Regions from separate parts of the Homo sapiens genome. Here all the other regions are linked to region 2. The links are contacts of gene promoters, found by promoter capture Hi-C in blood cells and fetal thymus (Javierre and others, 2016). All regions are on one chromosome and are shown on one strand. Each heading gives the region's core, a stretch centred on a gene start or on the middle of the fragment in contact. The rest is flanking DNA. Distances are from core to core; before and after follow the strand shown.

The links. The method cuts DNA at HindIII sites, captures the fragments that hold promoters and counts their contacts. A CHiCAGO score of 5 or more calls a contact.
Region 1: a fragment that was not itself captured here is called in contact with the fragment with the promoter of TSHZ2 in region 2 in 1 of 17 cell types (total CD4 T cells); the score reaches 7.1 in total CD4 T cells.
Region 3: a contact is called between a fragment that was not itself captured here and the fragment with the promoter of TSHZ2 in region 2, in 4 of 17 cell types (total CD4 T cells, activated CD4 T cells, non-activated CD4 T cells and 1 more). The highest score is 6.7, in total CD4 T cells.

What each region holds. Positions count from the first base shown.
Region 1 is chr20:52,245,519-52,249,723 of GRCh38, forward strand. The region is part of intron 2 of LOC105372666 (a long non-coding RNA gene); the gene reads left to right. Among named protein-coding and RNA genes, the nearest start is that of ZFP64, 56 kb to the left of the region's middle. The HindIII fragment of the contact is 188 bases long and covers 1,745-1,932 here.
Region 2 is chr20:52,969,785-52,974,128 of GRCh38, forward strand. It overlaps TSHZ2 (teashirt zinc finger homeobox 2), which reads left to right and starts at 2,574. Exons shown (of 3, transcript NM_173485.6): 1 at 2,574-3,549. The coding sequence starts at 3,510. The HindIII fragment of the contact is 5,636 bases long and covers 1-3,643 here.
Region 3 is chr20:52,300,384-52,304,882 of GRCh38, forward strand. The region is part of intron 2 of LOC105372666 (a long non-coding RNA gene); the gene reads left to right. Among named protein-coding and RNA genes, the nearest start is that of ZFP64, 110 kb to the left of the region's middle. The HindIII fragment of the contact is 3,487 bases long and covers 1,223-4,499 here.

The sequences.
Region 1 (4,205 bases), core at 589-3,088, 730 kb before region 2:
AAGCCCTAGTTTCAAGGATATTGCTAGGTTCAAGCAGATTCAATTTCTTAGAAGTGGCATTGGAGACCATTAATCTGATAAGGTAAACCTTCCTTGGTTAAAGACAACATGAGAATTCAAATCTGTGAACATTTGTTGAGTACCTAACCTGTGTAAGCTGCTATGTTACTCATGGCTTGAAATTAAAAATGAGTTAAATAGAGTCTGTGCCCACAAAGAGGGCAGCAGCACCAGCAGAGATGAGATGAATACACAATTAAATCTAATCCCAGGCCATGCAAGCCAGAGACAGTGGAGCTGGCCAGAGGTCTTGTGAGTTGCTAAGCTGGGTAGGAAAAATGAGGATGGATGGGAGAGAGACAAAGTAAATGAGAGAGGAGGGGGAAGAGATATTGATTTGAAAATGAATAGGAAAGAGAAGAGAATGAGAGAGGAGAATGAGAGAGAGAACAAATAAATGGGGAGGAAGGAAAGAGAGAGAGCAGATGTGTCTTGAAAGCTGGGCAGATCCTCCACTAGTGAAGATGAAGGGAGAGAGGGGGCAGTGGTATAGTAGAAGATTAAAGAAATAAAAACAATGTAAAAATCTTATTAATTTAACCTCACCAAGACAACCACTACTCTTCTTGTGGTGTATTTCTTTTCCAGTGCATATTTTATAATATTACAAATATTATAATATTTGGATTTTTCCAATGCATATTTTATAATATTAAAAAAAGTTATAAAAATAAAATTTTTATAATACACAGGGTCCACACATCCCAGCTTTGGAAATACCTCCTGGGGGTCCCATCCTGCTGACAAGAATGGGTACAGAAGCCCTCCCCAACACCACCCAGAGCTCTCTGGAAAGGGCCTGATTGCCCATTCAAATGGAGCTCTGATTGCTAATGTTATAAAAGTAGATCCTCCTTCTTCAAGGGCAGAGATAGTTTGGTCTTTGAGACACATAGATGCCCAATCACCATTTCTGGGAGACACCATCCAGTGCGGCAAAGAGAAAGTCAAGCAAATTGAATGCCTGTATCAAAACATGTTTATATCTGTCTACACTTGTCAAGTTATCAATCAACACCATTAGGTGATTTTTCATCACAGGCCTCCATCGCTGCAGTGCAGAAAAAAATGGAAAGGAATGGCTGGAAGAATTCTGGATTAAGGAAGAAGTTCCTGTTCATTCATTAAGCACTTTTTTTTAAAGTTACAAAAAAACTAATTTTGTTATTAATGTTATGTTTCAATTGGTTGTGGCAGCATCAGGTAGACACCCCAAGTGAAAGGGAAGCAGAGAGTCCTTGGCGTGATTTCAGGTTTCAGACTCCCTCATGGTCTTTAGAAACATCCTTCTGGGGCTTCCTTACCATGCTGTTAGGTGTACATGTTTTCCGGTTTACTATTAAGGACATTACAAAGGATATCGATGAACACCAGATGAAGAGATGGATAGGGCAAGGAATGTGGGAAGGGGCACTCAGCTTCCATGCCCTTTCCAGGTGCCCAAACCTCCTGGAACCTTCAGGGCTTCGCTTACAGGAAGCTCCAAACTTTTTTTTTTTTTTTTTTTTTTTTTCCTTTTTAGTATTGTAGGTACCAGGAGGACAGGGACCATGTCTGTTTGAGAATGTTTGTCTTCCATCCTGGGGAAAGTCATCCTCCACATAAGAATGAGTCAAATGTCTCCTTCGAAATGTAGCAAGAAGCAGAAAACAGGTTGTTTTTTTTCTCATGGGATACAGTTTGAAGCTTCAGATTCTACAATATATTTTAAGTTTAATTTTTAATGGAGTGTAGTTTGGACCAACATTTTGACAGTCAGAAGAGAGACCATTTTAGAGAGAGGAATCAGCATTTATAAAAGGGAGATAATTGATGTATTAGGGGTAGATGAGGAGGAACTCCAGATTTCCTGACTTGGATAGAACAGATGGAAGCTTCTGAACATCTAAAGGTGTCATAGACATGGATCTGGTCCTTAAGAATTGTACATTTGCTATTTCTTCTGGTTGTTCAAACCTCTGTTTTGTGTGTGTGTGTGTGCATTTTTCCTAGGCTTGGAAAATGTCCCAGATGTCTTTGTCATCCATTGTAGCAGGCAGAGGCTCACCTTCCCAGCCTCTCTTGCAGCTAGGGCGCAGCTACAGCCAGACACCCCACCCCAGACCCTGAGCTTCTTGCTGGTGAGCTGAAGCAGGCACCATGTGGGACCCATGCTGGGGAGTGCTGTGGGAGCTCCACCCAGGTCCTGGATCCAGCAGCTCCAGGGGCTTTCGTGGTGGTGTTCAGAGCCACACGGTGATGCAGGTGGTGCAAGCCCCCGGATCTGAGTCTAGAGGGGCTCCTTGGTGTTTCATGAGGTAGTTCTTCAGGAGCTTTTGGATTTGTTTCCTGGCTGAGCTGGTTCTCTGTTTCTCATGGGGATTGTCTGATCACAAAATATCCTTTATTAAATTCCATTTCCACTCAAAGTAGCCAGAGGTGGTTTCTGTTGCTTACAACTCTGATTCTTGACTTTAGGATGGGTGCATGAGCAGAGTGGTGAGAGAAGAGGCTGGGAGAGGCACTTTTGATGTAAGTTGACACTGAACAAATGCCTCTATGGGCATTGGCTATGGTAACAAAATTTAATATCCTCAGGCAATTCATAGAAAAATAAGTATATGAAAAATTATGCAGCCTCAGTAAAAATGAAATTGCAAACAAAATCAGGTATTAATTTTATTTCAGAGAGGTGGAAAACATGAAAAAGAAAATTCTCAGTGCTGGTAAGGATGTGGGAAAGCAGACACTCGAGGTTCCACCAATGCAAACTTTCTGCAATAAGTGCCACAGATACTTCTTGTCCATGTGCTTCGATCCAGCAATTTCACTTGTAGGAATTAACCTAGGGAAATAATTGGATAAGTACATTAAGATGTATGTGCCAAGATTCTCATTGCACTGTTGTTTATTTCAGTGAAAAACTGAAAGCACTCAACTGCCTATCAATAGGGGATTGACCAAATAAATTCTTATACCATGCAGGATGTATGTATTAATGCACAATGTAGTTAGGTATTGATATGTTTTGGCTGTCCCCACCCAAATCCCATCTTGAATTGTAGCTCCCATAATTCCCATGAGTTGTGGAAGGGACCTGGTGGGAGATAATTGAATCATGGAGGTGGTTCCCCCATACTGTTCCTGTGGTAGTGGATAAGTCTCACGAGATCTGATGGTTTTATAAGAAGTTTCCCCTTTCACATGGCTCTCATTCTCTCTTGTCTGTCACCATGGAAGATGTGCCTTTTGCCTTCTGCCATGATTGTAAGGGCTTCCCAGCCATGTGTAACAGTGAGTCTATTAAACCTCTTTTTCTTTATAAATTGCCCAGTCTTGGGTATGTCTTTATCAGTAGCATGAAGGCAGACTAATACACGTATTTAGCCCGGCCAATAGGTAAGCTAATCTTTATCACTGTGGAAATGTGTCCACAAAATATTGTCATATGAAAGTCTGTTAATAATGGATGTGTGTACATTGGGGCTTGAGTGGGGCCTAATAAAGTAATATTCTTCTTTCTTGTTTAAGTTTTGAATCAATTGAGAGAGAACCGCAAAAGTCAGAGAGATGGTGATAAAAACATCATCTTCATTACGGATAAAAGTTTTATCGGAGGATGTAGCTTACGAGAGTATCCACATGGGTTCATTATAGCCCACCCAGGCAAAAGTTACGCTTGTGGAAGATTGTTGCCTCAAAGATTGCTTGGTTCTGGGGCAGAGAAGAAAGGGAGCAAATTGCAAATAGCCTTTTAGTGTGTTAGCTTACCTAGTTGAGATATGTGGACAAATGGCTATCACCCATTGATATGGTTTGACTCTATGTCCCCACCCAAATCTCATGTCAAATTGTAATCCCCACGTGTCAGGGGAGGGGCCTGGTGGGAGGTGATTGGATCATGGGGGCTGATTTTCCCTTTGCTGGTCTCATGATAGTAACTGTGTTCTCATGAAATCTGATGGTTTAAAAATGTGTGGCACTTCCCCCTTCAGTCTCTCTCTCCTGCTCCAAAATGCTAAGATGTGCTTGCTTCCCCTTCGCCTTCTGCCATGATTGTAAGTTTCCTGAGGCTTCCTTGCCATGCTTCCTGTTAGGGATGTAGAACTGGGAGTCAAACCTCTTTTCTTCATTAATTACCCACTTTCAGTTAGTTCTTTATAGCA
Region 2 (4,344 bases), core at 1,324-3,823:
ACACCATAAATATTCTAGAAGAAAACCTAAGAAAAACTCTTCTGGACATTGGCTTAGGCAAAGAATTTCTGACTAAGCCCTCAAAAGCAAATGCAACAAAAATAAATAAATAAATGGAGCCTAATTAAACTAAAAAAATTCTACCCAGTAAAAGAAACAATCATCAGAGCAAACAGACAACCTACAGAATGGGTGAAAATATTTGCAAACTATGCATCTGACAAAGGACTAATATCCAGAATCTACAAGGAACTCAAACAAATCAGCAAGAAAAAAAAAAAAATAATCTCATTAAAAAGTGGACAAATGACGTGAATAGACATTTCTCAAAAGGAGACAGACAAATGGCCAACAAACATAATGAAAAAATGCTGAACATCAATAATCACAGGGTAAATGCAAATTAAAACTGCAGTGAGATAGCACCTTACCCTAGCCAGAATGGCCATTATTAAAAAGTCAAAAAACAACAGATATTGGTGTGGATGTGGGGAAAAGGGAACTTTTATACCCACTGCTGGTGTGAATGTAAATTAGTACAATCTCTATGGAGAACAGTATGGAGATTTCTCAAGGAATTAAAAGTAGATCTACCATTTGATCCAGCAACCCCACTACTGGGTATCTACCCAAAGGAAAAAAAGTCATTATGTCAAAAAGACACCTGCAGGCGTATATTCATTGCAGCACAATTGCAAAGATATGAAATCAACATAAGTGCCCATCAACTGATTATTGTATAAAGAAAATGTGGTATATATATCTATATATGTGTATTTGTGTATATATATGTGTGTTTGTGTGTATATACACACATATATATACACCGTGGAATACTACTCAGCCATAGTAAAGAACAAAATAATGTCTTTCACAGCAACTTGGATAGAGCTGGAGGCCGTTATTCTAGGTGAAGTAACTCAGGATCAAAAACCAAATACCACACGTTCTTGGTTATAAGTGGGAGCTAATGCATGGGTATGCAAAGGCATATGGAAAGATATCATGGACATTGGCAACTCAGAAGCGAGGAGTATGGGAAGGGGGTGAGGACTGAAAAACTACCTATTGGGTACGATGTACACTACTCGGGTGACGGGTGCACTGAAATCCCAGACTTCACCACTATGCAATTCATCCATGTAACCGAAAACCACTTTTACCCCTAAAGCTATTGAAATAAAAAAAATAATAAAGCAAAAAAAAACACCTCTAGTCCCAGCCTGCATCAAATGCCCTCAGTTGCTTTGCCCTCTCACTGGAAGGAGCACTCCTTGAGGGCATGGTCTAGGTTCACCTTGTTCACAGACTTGCCCCCAACACCTCAAAAGGTGCCTGGCCGATAGCAGAACTCAATAATCACATGTTTGTTTCAATCTCTCTGTGCTCAAATGCCATATCCTACATTGAATCTAGAGCCACCCACCCCCTTTTAGACACTATTACAGCACTCAGCTTAACGTCTTCATGGAGCGAATCACTCAAAGTATCCTGTTTATTTGCTTGCTTACTTTTCATTCATTCAACAAATATTTTACTGGGCACTTATTATATGTCTTGTGCTTTGCCAGCACTTGGGGATATAAGAGAACAAAGAGGCAAAAATCCTTCCTTCCATTGGAGCTTACATTCAAGAGGGGAACTTGTACAATCAACAGAATAGAAAACTGTCTATAACCTGTGTGACACTCACTGATCAGCTCACTGGGGAATAACAAAATGGAGAAATGGGGCAGGGAGTGTGTGTGTGTGTGTGTGTGTGTATTTTAGGTGAGGTAGACCTTTGGGAAAAGGGGACATTTAAGCAAAGATTGGATAGCTGGGGGGCACTTGTCTGCACTCCCCCATTAGAATATAAATACCAACATGGCCACCACCTTCCCTTTCTCTGTGGCCTCTGTGTCTCCAGAATAGGCACATAGTAGATGCTCAATAAACATTCTTCAAAGGAAACAAAAAGAGGAGTATATGATTAGACCTTAAAGTAGACAGAAGGGAGATTTTTGTTTTTGTGACCACCCATTGATTAGCGAGAAAGTGGGAGGGACAGGGGCACTAAATTGAAGGGGTCGTGGGGAGCACATTTTGGTGGGGGCAGGTTAAGACTTACAGGATGGAGATCCTCACTGGATAAGGTCCCCTCCCCCTTCCCAGCCCCGAGCAAACCTAAGTTCTCCCTCTCCTAAGATTGTGCATGGTCCCTGCTGGTCAGCCAACCTGGCCCCCCTGAATCTCCCTCCACAGCCTCCCAGCTTCAGAGTTCAGCCATCATCACACTGCCTCCTTTTCTCCCGCACCCCTTCCCTCCTCACCTCCTTTCCTCCCGCCCCCGCCCCTTCCGCCTCCCGGAGGGGTGTCCCCGCGCCCGGTGGGCACGCCCTCGCCCCGGCGGAGAGGGCGCACAGAGGGGCCTGGGCCGGCGCGCCGGGGCCCCCGCCCCCAGCCCCTCTCCCCTGCGGGACGCTGTCCCTTTAATAGGCTCCCGCTGCCTGGCGCTCTGCGGCTGGGGAGTAAATTTCTCCCTGTCATCAGGTCGCGGGGAGAGGAGGAGGAGGAGGAGTTTGTTAATGTTCAGTTTGTTCAGCGGGATCGATGTTTGCTGGCATCGCCTCGCCCTGTCTTGTGTGTGTGTGCGAGGGTGTGTGTGTGTGTTTGTGTGTGTGTGCATATGTGGGGGGTGTGAGTGTGTGTGTGCGAGGAAGCGGGGGTGCGTGCGCGTGTGAGTGCGTGTGTGAGTGTCTGTGTGTGTGTCTGTGTGTGTGTGTGAGTGAGTGAATTCCAGATTTTCTGTCTTTCCAAAACCCGCTCCTGTCCTCTCGCATATCACTCACAGACGGGGATCTGACAGCAGCCACAAACCTACAGTGAGTGATCGCTCTCCCCCCGGCACGAATCCGCCATAGAGATCGGCGAGGAGGAGGAGGAGGAGGAGGAAGAAAAGAAGGAGGAGGTGGAGGAGGAGGTGGAGGAGGAGGAGGAGGAGGGAAAGAGGAGAAGGAAGAAGAAGAAAAAGAAGAAACCCACTACCTTCCCAGGATTGCCTTTTTTTTTTCCTTATCTTTACGCGCGAGTGTGCCTGTGGCGCGTGTGCGCCCCTCGTCCCTTCCATCCGAACCCGGGCTTGGATGTTTAATAAAGAAATCAAGTGTCTCAACAGTCACCAAAAAAAAAAAAAACCGCAAAAACAAAACCAAAAAAATTCCAAAAGCAAAAACAAAAAAGAGAGAGGAAAAAAAATTCAAAATAAACAAACAAACAAACAAGGCAGAACCAACCTCTACTTCAAAGCAGCCGGCACAAGCCACCCGTGTCTGCCACCCAGAGAGGGGGGTCTCTGGCCCGTGGTGGAGGAGTTGCAGGGGGGATCGTCAGGGGGACAGAGGCCGAGTGACGTCCTAGGAGCCACCGGGCAAGAGGCGGAGGAGACCCAGAGAGGCCAGAGAGACAGCGGGCCCCAGCGCGCGGCTCGGGGCTGGGGCGCCAGAAGTGGGACTGGAGCGAAGTAGAGGATGCCGAGGAGAAAACAGCAGGCACCCAAGCGGGCGGCAGGTAAGAGAAACGGCTCCGCTTCGGGGCTGCCCTGTGCGCCGAGCTCCTCGCCCGCCCTCCTTGCCCCTGGGTGCCCGGGGGCACCACCCACTTAAGCTTTCGGGGGAGTTTGCGCCGGGTGCCCTTCTAATAACCCCGTCCTCTCTCGCCTTCTCTGGTCTCCCAAATCCTCCCCTTCCAAGCTCCGGTTGGGTTGGGGTGAGCTATCCCACCAAGCCTTTCCTCCTTAAACTTTCTTTCCTCCACCCTCTACCCCACCCCTAACTTTCTTCCAGTCTGTTTCTTGCCTCTCGGGCCAAAGTCGGATTGAGGATTTGGGGTGCGGAGTAGGGAGACAGCCCCTCCACCCCTGCATCCCTCTGCGTGGTCAGTGCCAGTGGCTTTTGGCCTCCAGGGATAGCGTCTCCTCTCACTGGGGCTTGGGGCGCTGAAGTGTGAGGCATACCTAACACTCGGGCTGCAGGCAGGCTTTGGGGCCAGCAATAGGAGTTTAGCGTTGATCACCAAGGTGGACAAAATGCCCCCAGGAAATGGATGACTCTTTGCATATATTTTCTAAAAGGATCCATATTTGGAAATGTAATTAACAATTTCCCTATTCTTTAAAAAAACCAAAAAGGGTTGTAGGGGGGAAATTCCCCATAGAAATTTAAACAGCTCTGGATTTTCTTTGCCTAGAGAGTTGCAAACTTTGTGAAATGATTCGTACTGTAAAAACTATCCCATCTGAATCCTTACTGCCCCCTAAAAAAGATAAGAACAGGTTAATGGATCAGTACAATAGACCTTCTAAAG
Region 3 (4,499 bases), core at 1,716-4,215, 670 kb before region 2:
ACTGCCCAAATAATACTCATTTCGCCAGAGGAGGGGGCTGGCAAATATGGGCCACAGACCAAATCTCTTCCCCCAACATCCACACCTGTTTTTGTAAATAAATTTTATTGGGACCCAGCCACGATCATGCACTTAGTTTTGCTTTTGGGCTATAAGGGCAGAGTTGAATGGTTATGCCAGAGAGTGGCCCACAAAATTGAAAAAATTAACTATCTGTCCTTTTATGTTAAAAGTTTGCCAACACTTGCTTCAGAGCTAATCAATGTTCAAATTTTATGTCTTCAATTTCATACCTTTTCTCATGTTTTTGCACATGTCTGGGTATGCACATATATATGTAATTACAAAAATACATACCTATACACACATATGTATGCATATGCACACATGCACACATAATATTTTTAGTTAAATGAAGTCATGCTATATAAATGATGTACATAATGTACCTTGGAGATTTTTCCATATCTGTTCCTATAATGCTACTTTGTTATTTTCTGTAGCGTAGATGTACCATCATTTATTTAATCATTCCCCTACTCTACAGATGAACATAAAGCTTGTTTCCAATTTCTGTCAACCATCTTGAATGAGTAGTCAAAATGTCTTTGAAAACCCAATTGTAGCCACCATTCATTTAATTTGTAAAATTTTGAGTCTTTTGCAGGAGGGAGGCTAACTTCATTCCATGTTAGAGTTTCTTACACACAGTAAACAGGACCAAAAATATATTCTGCACTTCGGGTCTTAATTATGCATTATACACTTAATTAAAATTCACATTGTCAGTAAAAGGTAAGGACTATATTAGATTGTGGTTGTTGGCATCATGATTAATATACATTTAAGCTTTAAAATCTGTTGTTACATTATGGTAGATTTTCCAGAAAGAAACATGAAGCTTTAAAATGCATTTTTAAAAAGACAGAAGGAGATATGAACTCAGTGGAAGAAATCCAGCTCATTCTAGAGCAGATGATAGCTATATATAATAAAAAATGGAGCCAAAGTCTCACCTTAATTTGCGTGTAGTTTAAGGCAGGCAGGTTCTTCTCTCTCTTTCTGAGAATTAGAACTGTATAAAACCAGAGGATGGATGAATGTGCAAGGCATCAAACTCCAGGATAAAACCTGATTTTCTATTTTGCTAAACCAAACACTCAAGTTTTACTAGTCTTTGTGTCCGCTTTAGGTGGGAGCACTGTTGTTAGTTTCTTCCCAAAGCTTACCTTTCCCTTTGGTCACATTTTTCTAGTTGTTTTTATTTTTTGACCCTAAAGAGTTTCCCTTTGTTCAGAGACTTGTCTGTGGGCTTGATACGAAGTTTCCACTTTGTTTGGTGTATTTCCATTTATAAGCCGTGTTTTTCTCACCTTCTCTGCTTCACACTCAGTTTATTTCCATTAAAGATCAAGAAAGTGACTGAAGAGTCTGTTCACATTTTGAGGTGGCCTCAATTTTACTCTACTGTTGGCTGGGATCCACCTCTCTCACTCCCCAGCTATTGACTCTTTATTTTCTCTTTTCTGTTTCAACGTTTGGCCATGGAGAATCGTAAAACCTTTACTTTTAAATTGTAAGTGTTACCTTTGTTCTTTTAATTTTGTCATCTGCCCTTGTTCTTTTGTTCTTTGTTTTCAGTATTCTGACTTATTGCATCTCTATGATTATCTTTATGTCAGAGGCATTTAAACCAGAGCGTCTTCATTTTGAATCGGGGCTGGGTAAAATAATACTGAGCCCTACTGGGCTGCATTCCCTGAAGGTTAGACATTCTAAGTCACAGGATAAGATAGGAGGTTGGCACAAGATACAGGTCATAAAGACCTTGCTGATAAAACAGTTTACAGCAAAGAAGCTGGCCAAAACCCACCAAAACCAAGATGGCGATGAGAATGACCTCTGGTCCTCGTCACTGCTACACTCCCACCAGCGCCACGATAGTTTACAAATGCCATGCCAACATCAGGAAGTTACCCTGTATGGTCTAAAAAGGGGAGGCATGAATAATCCACCCCTTGTTTAGCATATCATCAAGAAATAACCATAAAACTGGGCAACCAGCAGCCCTCAGGGCTGCTTTGCCAATGGCATAGCCATATCTTTATTCCTTGACTTTCTTAATAAACTTGCTTTCACTTTACTGTATGGATTCACCTTGAATTCTTTCTTGCATGAGATCCAAGAACCCTCTCTTGGGGTCTGGATAGGGACCCCTTTCCAGTAACATTTATGCCTTGGACAATTTTGAGGTACATATGAAATATCTGGATAGAAAGTGCAAGTTTTCTGCTAATATAACCCTTCTTTCTTAGTAATTGGACCCACAAAGGTTATCCAGGCACATGAGAATAACATGACAAACCCCAGCATTTTTTGTGTGTCTGGGTGTGACTATGTGCCTAATTTCTGGCCAGAGTGGTTTAAGTGGAAGTGTTCTTTGCAACTGTTTGGGGGCCTCTTTGTGTAGAGAGGCCACTTGCTACTCCCTGGCTGGAATGTGGTTGGGTGGTTGGCTGTAGAACGCCTCACTGGGACCTGATGTGGAGGCCACATGTTGGCCTTGGTAGACTTGATAACTAGAGACACAGTGAGTAACACGGGCTTCTCAGAACATGCTGGGAGATAAACACCAACAGCACCCAAGACCAGAAAATGCCACCAGATGCTACTAGAGAGCAAAGTATAGTGACAGGCCAGACTCTGCTTTCTAACATGATTATTTTCCAAAATGTCTTGGTCCTTGGACGCTTACCAAAAAAGAAGGAAGGAGTTTGTGACTGTGTGTATGTGTGTGTGTGCAGAATCCTAAATTGGTTGTGTGTTTAACTCAGAATGATGGCACTTACCTGGAAGTGACTAAATTTTCTGCCATTAGGTAGATGGAGGGCTTGACATAAAAACAGTTTAAGTGGAGTTACAGAAGAATTTTAAAAGATTTTATTTCTTGCACACTCAAGTTTGTCTTCTGTGACAATCATAGCCACGATGGGAGTCTGGGCTTAAGAAGGCAGCTGGGAATTGGGGCTGAGGTTTAAGCACGGCAGGAACACTGTCAGATTTGTGCTTCCTTCCGAAGTCTGTTTTTCAGGGAGGTTGTGGCCACGTGATGGTCACGGTTGCTTTCATCCTCTCCTGGAGACTCTCAGCTGTCCTACATATGTCACTGCATTTTTGCAGAGTCAGATGGTCTTTTCTGAATTATTTTCTATTGTCATCATTTGTGATCTCTGCTATAGCCCTGTCTTTATATATTTGCTTCAAAATAGGCCCCCAGTCCATTTTTGGAGAGAGTACTTAGATTTGTTCAGTCAAATTTCAGAACTGCAAGTGGCTCAGTCAGTCCAATGACAAAGAACGCCCCCCCGCCACCCACTGCCAAAATGGAACATGAGTTTTGCTTCAGAAATGAATACATAAAATATGTTACCTTTTCATCCATCTTCTCTCAATTTTATTTGTTGCTAAAGTGATATTATACAGATATTGAAAGACTTTTTAAAATAAGAAAAAAAAACCCATAACAATGATCTCATTTAAAATTTTTGGTTGAAAGTGACAAAAACTGAATTGGAACAAGCTCAGATGGAGAAAAAACACACGAGCTTGAGTCACAGAAAAATCCAGGAACAGAATTACTTTTAGATATCACTTCATCTGAGACTCAAACAATGCTCAAGTAGAATAATCATTTCTTCATTTCTTAGATCTGTTTCCCAATGTGTGGGCATCATTCTTCAGCAGGACCAATGCCTGGGGGTGCAAAATGGCCATGAGAAACTTTTAGCCTCCTATGCTTTGATTTCAGTAAACTCAGCAGCCTGAGGTTCTCTCTCTCTTAATATTAAAATCAAAGCAAAACAAGGAAGTGAGTTTCATATTGGTCTGCTTGTGCTCATGCTCCTGTCTGAACAGATTACCATGGCCAAGACAGTGGAATGACCAGGGTGGTGGGGGCAGGGGGCGGTCAGGTCTCGGGTATGTGCCCTACTTTGGATCTAAGGGTGGGTTAATTTCTTGGACTCAGTGAGTTAAAGATGATGGACAAGTAGTTCTCTACTCCCTCCTACCCAATCAGGGTGGCATTCCCAGAAGAATAAATCAATAGACAAAAATAGCAGAGAGCCACCCAACTGATAATCCCAATCCCCAAAGAGATGAGAGCTTCCATTCTTCTGTTCCCATTCGTCCATGTTCATAAAGATCACACCCGTATATGCTTATAATTATAATATAGAATAGATCAGAGAACAGCAAACTACAGCCCAGGAGCCAAATTTGGCCCATCACTTACTGCTGTAAATAAAGTTTTATTGGAACGTGGCTGTGTCGATTCACTCACATGCCGTCTATAGAAAACATCATGCTACAACAGCAGTTCATTAGTTCCAATAGATACTGTTTGGTTCGTGACATCGAAAAGTATTTACTGTTTTGCCCTTCACAGAGAAAATTTACCATCCCTGGGTATATATTAGAATTAGTATTGTGGTTTTTAA